Linked DNA regions of Homo sapiens: region 1 is linked to region 2. The links are contacts of gene promoters, found by promoter capture Hi-C in blood cells and fetal thymus (Javierre and others, 2016). All regions are on one chromosome and are shown on one strand. Each heading gives the region's core, a stretch centred on a gene start or on the middle of the fragment in contact. The rest is flanking DNA. Distances are from core to core; before and after follow the strand shown.

Evidence for each region. Contacts are between HindIII fragments. The CHiCAGO score rates a contact against its expected background, and 5 or more counts as called.
Region 1: a contact is called between a fragment that was not itself captured here and the fragment with the promoter of CAND1 in region 2, in 4 of 17 cell types (neutrophils, total B cells, fetal thymus and 1 more). The highest score is 11.0, in neutrophils.

Annotation. Positions count from the first base shown.
Region 1 is chr12:69,580,699-69,583,398 of GRCh38, forward strand. No RefSeq gene overlaps it. Among named protein-coding and RNA genes, the nearest start is that of MIR3913-2, 2.7 kb to the right of the region's middle. The HindIII fragment of the contact is 3,759 bases long and covers 1-2,700 here.
Region 2 is chr12:67,267,925-67,270,624 of GRCh38, forward strand. It overlaps CAND1 (cullin associated and neddylation dissociated 1), which reads left to right and starts at 1,434. Exons shown (of 15, transcript NM_018448.5): 1 at 1,434-1,861. The coding sequence starts at 1,794. RefSeq lists enhancers at 570-869, 1,010-1,269, 1,549-2,200. The HindIII fragment of the contact is 8,089 bases long and covers 1-2,663 here.

The DNA.
Region 1 (2,700 bases), core at 91-2,590, 2.3 Mb after region 2:
GGAGCCAGATCTGATAAATCCGTATTCAAAGGCATTGTTAAAGGACTGTTTAGATTGTTTACTGCTGTGCAACAAACCACCCTAAAAGTTAGTGGCTTAAAGCAGCAATCATTTAATGTCTCAAGTTGCTATAGATCGAGATGGGCAGGGCACAGCAGAGATGGCTCATCTCACATGATGTCTGGAGGCCTGGCTTCCTCATATGCTTTGTGCCTATGCTAGTATGATTCAAGCAGCTGAGGGCTGGCTGGACCAGTTCCACTAGGTTATGTCTGGAACTTAAAGCTCTCAGCTGTGTTCCTTAGTTTTCTTCCATGAAGTCTTGGGTCTTTCTTCATGTGGTCTTCTTACATGGCAGCTTAGGGTTCCCAAGAGCACAAAAGTAGATGCTGCTAGGCTTTCTTGAGGCCTAAGCCCAGAACTGGCACAATGTCAATTCTGTTGTATTTTGTTGAATTACAGTGGCTCATATAAAAGCATGAACATCAAAAGTGTAGTTTATTCAGGGCCACCAATGTAATAGAGGGCCTAAAGGAGGAAGAATTAACACCTCTGATTGATAAGGGGAATGACAGAAATGGAGGGGTCAAGGATGACCCCCAGTTATCTGGTTTGGGTGACTGAGATGGTTGATGGTGTCAGTTCATTGAGATTTAAGATATATTTGGGGGCTGGGCATGGTGGCTCATGCCCGTAATCCCAGCACTTTGGGAGGCTGTGGAGGGTGGATCACTTCAGCCCAGAAGTTTGAGACCAGCCTGGGCAACATGGTGAAAACCTGTTTCTATGAAAAAATACAAAAATCAACTGGCGTGGTGGTGTGTGCTTGTAGTCCCAGCTACTCAAGAGACTGAGGCAGGAGGATAGATTAAGCCTGGGAGGTTGAGGCTGCAATGAACTGTGATCCTGCCACTGTGGTCCAGCCTGGGCAACATAATGAGACCCTGTTTTTTTTTTTTTTAAAGTGCTCCTCTAAGTGTGCTCCACAGACTGATTCCTGTGTACAAACTATCACGGTCTGCAACAGGAGAAATATCAAGTCTTCTAACCTTCTCCCTACTACCCAAACAGTAGGTGTCTGGGTGGACCCAACTTAATGTGACTGTGGACTCCTGGTCCTTTATTTGGTTTCCTTCCCCAGGTATTCTAACTGTTCCTGAGGAATGTTGACAAGTCCCATAACTCTGTTCTGGTGGTTGTTTGCCACTTCGCCAGTTATTTCACTCCAGTTAATGAATCTACCCTTGCTCCCAAATCACCTCTAGCCATCAAATAATGATATGCTACAGTGCTTTCCTACTTCCATAACATGCCAAGCATATCCAACCTCGGCTACTATATTTATAAAGCCTATTAGAAGACTTGGGATATAATGATAACAATAGCTAAGCTAAACAGGCACTGTTCTAAGCTATTTAATCTGTGATAATTATCTCCATTTTACACAAAGGGAAATTGAGGCACAGAGAGATTATATAACTGGAAGCTGACCAGTTAACAAAAAGCCAATTCACTGAAAGCCAAATTATACCAAGGGGAAGAGAGAGGAGGACACAGGGTCATAGAGAGGAGAGGGTCACAAAGACTTTGAGGGAGGAGGAAGGGTTAACTAAGAGAAGCCAAGACCAAGGGACTTGAGAGTAGAGGACAGAAGATGAGCCAGGAGAAAGTCACACAACGTGTTTAATCACAGAAACATGGATTCCCAAGGTCTCACTATCTCCATAGGCCCTGTAACCTATCTAATACAAATTACGATAAAATGTATAAATAGATGGGCACAGTGGCTTCTGCCTGTAATTCCAGCACTTTGGGAGGCCAAGGTGGGCAGATCGCATGAATTCAGGAGTTCAAGACCAGCCTGAGAAACATGGCAAAATCCCGTCTCCACCAAAAATACAAAAAATTAGCTGGTGTGGTGGCGCATGCCTGTATTTCCAGCTACTCGGGAGACAGGTCGGAGGATCGCTTGAAGTCAGGAGGCAGAGGTTGCAGTGAGTGGAGATCACACCACTGCACTCCTGCCTGGGTGACAGAGTAAGACCCTGTCTCAATTAAAAAATATATATATAGGTGTGGTGGCTCATGCCTGTAATCCCAGCACTTTGGGAGACTGAGGTGGGCAGATTGCTTGAGGTCAGAAGTTCGAGACCACCCTGGCCAACATGGTTAAACCCTGTCTCTACTAAAAATACAAAAATTAGCCAGCTGTGGTGGTGCATGCCTGTAGTCCCAGCTATTTGGGAGGCTGAGGCAGGAGAATTGCTTGAACCCGGGAGGCGGAGGTTGCAGTGAGTTGAGATCATACCACTGCACTCCAGCCCGAGCGACAGAGTGAAACTCTGTTTCAACAACAACAACAACAACAAAAAAGTATAAACAGCTAAAAGAGACAGTTTTTGGTAAACCAGCACATTGATCACGCTCTGAATGGCCTTCAATGAACTGATTTAAAGAGCCTGTGAAACCCACCCAAGACTACAAAGCTAGTACGTAAAATGGTTGAAATTCAAACTCATATAGTCTGGGTCTAGAAGCTGAGTGTTTAGCCTCTAGGTGTAGAGGTGTCATCAAAGGAGGGGGAAGTAGGAAAGAAGGAAGGGTCAAAAGATGCAATGGAGAAAGGACACATTTCCAAGGGTCCCATCATAGAGTCTCTTCCTGGCTGCCTCTAGCCTCAGTTCCACAAGGTGGCAGGGC
Region 2 (2,700 bases), core at 184-2,683:
GTAGAAGGATACATGAGAGCAGATCAGAGGTATGTGTGAAATTTAAACACATATTATGAGGCTAAACCAAGTTTCATCTGTTTTATTAACTCCTATTGCCTGACTTTGAAGTACTCAGTAATAGTTGATGAATACAGAAAACAATGGTAAAGGTCAGGTAGATTTGATCGGATTTGAGTTATGTGTTAGTAGAGAGCTATTTAAAGGTTTGTTGTTGTTTTTAACAGGAGTATCAAGTGAGATTGATTTTTCATCTCTTCACCAGGCTCTCTGTTCTTTTAGAAAGGCCTGTCAGCTAGCTCCATCCCTAACACTTTCAGGGATGTTGACCCCTAGCTGGCAAAACTTGTGTTTAAAATCCCAAATATTAAGCAGATGAAAAACTTGGATACTAAATACTTTCATAACTCATCTCCACGAATTTGTACGTCTGAGGGAGCAATACACAGCTGCAGGTCCATCAAGGCCACAAAAGCTAACTACAGAGATAGTCTTTTAGCTATTTTGAAATCAGTAGGGCCTGACTACAGCCATCTGTCGCATACCCATTACTCTTACTAAGGTCCTGCTGGCGTCAGAGAGGTGGTTCTACGATGCACGGTAGGAGTGTGTCTGGCCAGAGAAGTGGGGAGGCTCAGCTGCCTTGGGAGGTGCAAGTAGTAGCGCTAGGAAGCTGCTGCTAGGCCTCTGGCAAGAACACCAACTGATCCGCAATGCGCCTGGCCAAACTGCAGCAGCCTGCTCTGCAAATACTGCATAACAGAAAAAGCCTGTATTGGAGAATATAAGAATCCGCGGCAGAAACGGAGTGCGCGACGATTCTAAGGTTTTTACCCAGCACGGCTCCCCCATCAGACTGCAAATCCCAGCATTCACTCCTTCCACGGGAGCCAATGAGGAAGCTACTAGTTCCCGCAGCCAATCACATTCTGAGCCAGTGTATCACCCGACTGAATTCTGGGATTTGTGGTTTTTACGTGGCAACATTACACCACGGTGGCTACGGCAATGCAGGCCACGCGTCTGATCCCAAACGACACCTCCCTGTTATAAATTCTTATGTTGGTTCCGCAAGCTAACTCCTTAACTGTCGTTACTCCCAGGCTTCCTCCTTCTCAAAGCTCGTAATCTTTTTCTCTTAATGTCATTAAACAATCAAGTTATTTTCAGATTAAGGCCCACTTGCTCCACTCGTCCCCTGTCCCTTAACCGTCGCTTTAGAGTCTCGCGAGAACAGCCCCTTTTTTTTGTGTTGTCATGCCTCCAAAAGGCGGGTCACATGAAAACTGACACAGGCTTCAGCCAACCGAATTGTTTTTTAACTCTCTTCTCCACAGCGTGCGTGGGGAGGCCTCCGTGAACTCTGACCTTAGCTTTCCGTAGCGCCCGCGTCTGCCGCCCCCGCCCCCGGAGCGAAGGAGGCGGGCTTTGGCCTTTTGCCCTAGGGAGCGAGTGCGGAGCGAGTGGGAGCGAGACGGCCCTGAGTGGAAGTGTCTGGCTCCCCGTAGAGGCCCTTCTGTACGCCCCGCCGCCCATGAGCTCGTTCTCACGCGAACAGCGCCGTCGTTAGGCTGGCTCTGTAGCCTCGGCTTACCCCGGGACAGGCCCACGCCTCGCCAGGGAGGGGGCAGCCCGTCGAGGCGCCTCCCTAGTCAGCGTCGGCGTCGCGCTGCGACCCTGGAAGCGGGAGCCGCCGCGAGCGAGAGGAGGAGCTCCAGTGGCGGCGGCGGCGGCGGCAGCGGCAGCGGGCAGCAGCTCCAGCAGCGCCAGCAGGCGGGATCGAGGCCGTCAACATGGCGAGCGCCTCGTACCACATTTCCAATTTGCTGGAAAAAATGACATCCAGCGACAAGGACTTTAGGTGAGGCCGAGATCCGACCCTCACCCCACCTCGGGGTTCTCGCAGCCGCGGCCCTGGCCGTCACGCAGGCCTTGCCCCACCCCTTCGGCCGTAGCCGGTAGCTTCTCTGCCCCGAAGTCTCCAGCCCACCGGTCCGCTGGCCTCCCGATCCCTGCGGAGCCCCTTTCCTCTCCCCTCTTGCAACCCCCTCCCCCCATTCTTTCTCCTAGGCAGTTGCCCGCCGCGGTCTCTAGGCCCCGTTTGCTTGTCTCAGCGCCCCCACATCCTTCCCTGCCCCACCAGGAGGCGATTCTTGCGTCTCAGGTAGCGCGAAGGGGCTAAACCACCCACCATTGTGGAGAAGGGAGTTGCTCTAGGCCGGGAGACCGGGCGCCGGGCCTATTCGCTTGCCATCCTGCGGCGCTAGGCCGCCTTGCTCGCTGGGGCCCAAGCTGCTGCCCACTCGGGGACCCGGCAGCCTCCTCTCTGCCCGCAGGTGCGCGTGGGCCTTGCTGCATTCAGGTGGAATGATGAACTTTTGCGCTCTTGGCTGATACATAGTTCTTTTGTGGATTATTAATTTTCGTGAAGGTGGGAAGAAGGGGGAGGGGAGCCAGGATGGAGGAAACTTCGCTCATAGGGTTTTCCCGCCAGCATCACTGTCAGTTCCTCTTGTCAGGTAAAACCAACTTAGGAACTCGGGGTTTCAGTCTCATGTCCTCATATCCAAAATCACTGCCAAAGGGGTGGATTGCTGGATCTTAATCATAGCAGACGGATCTTCAAAAGGAAGAGATGTTTAATACGGACCTGGTGAATATGAAGCTTTATTACAGCAGTTCTGTTCAGGAGATCGGTAC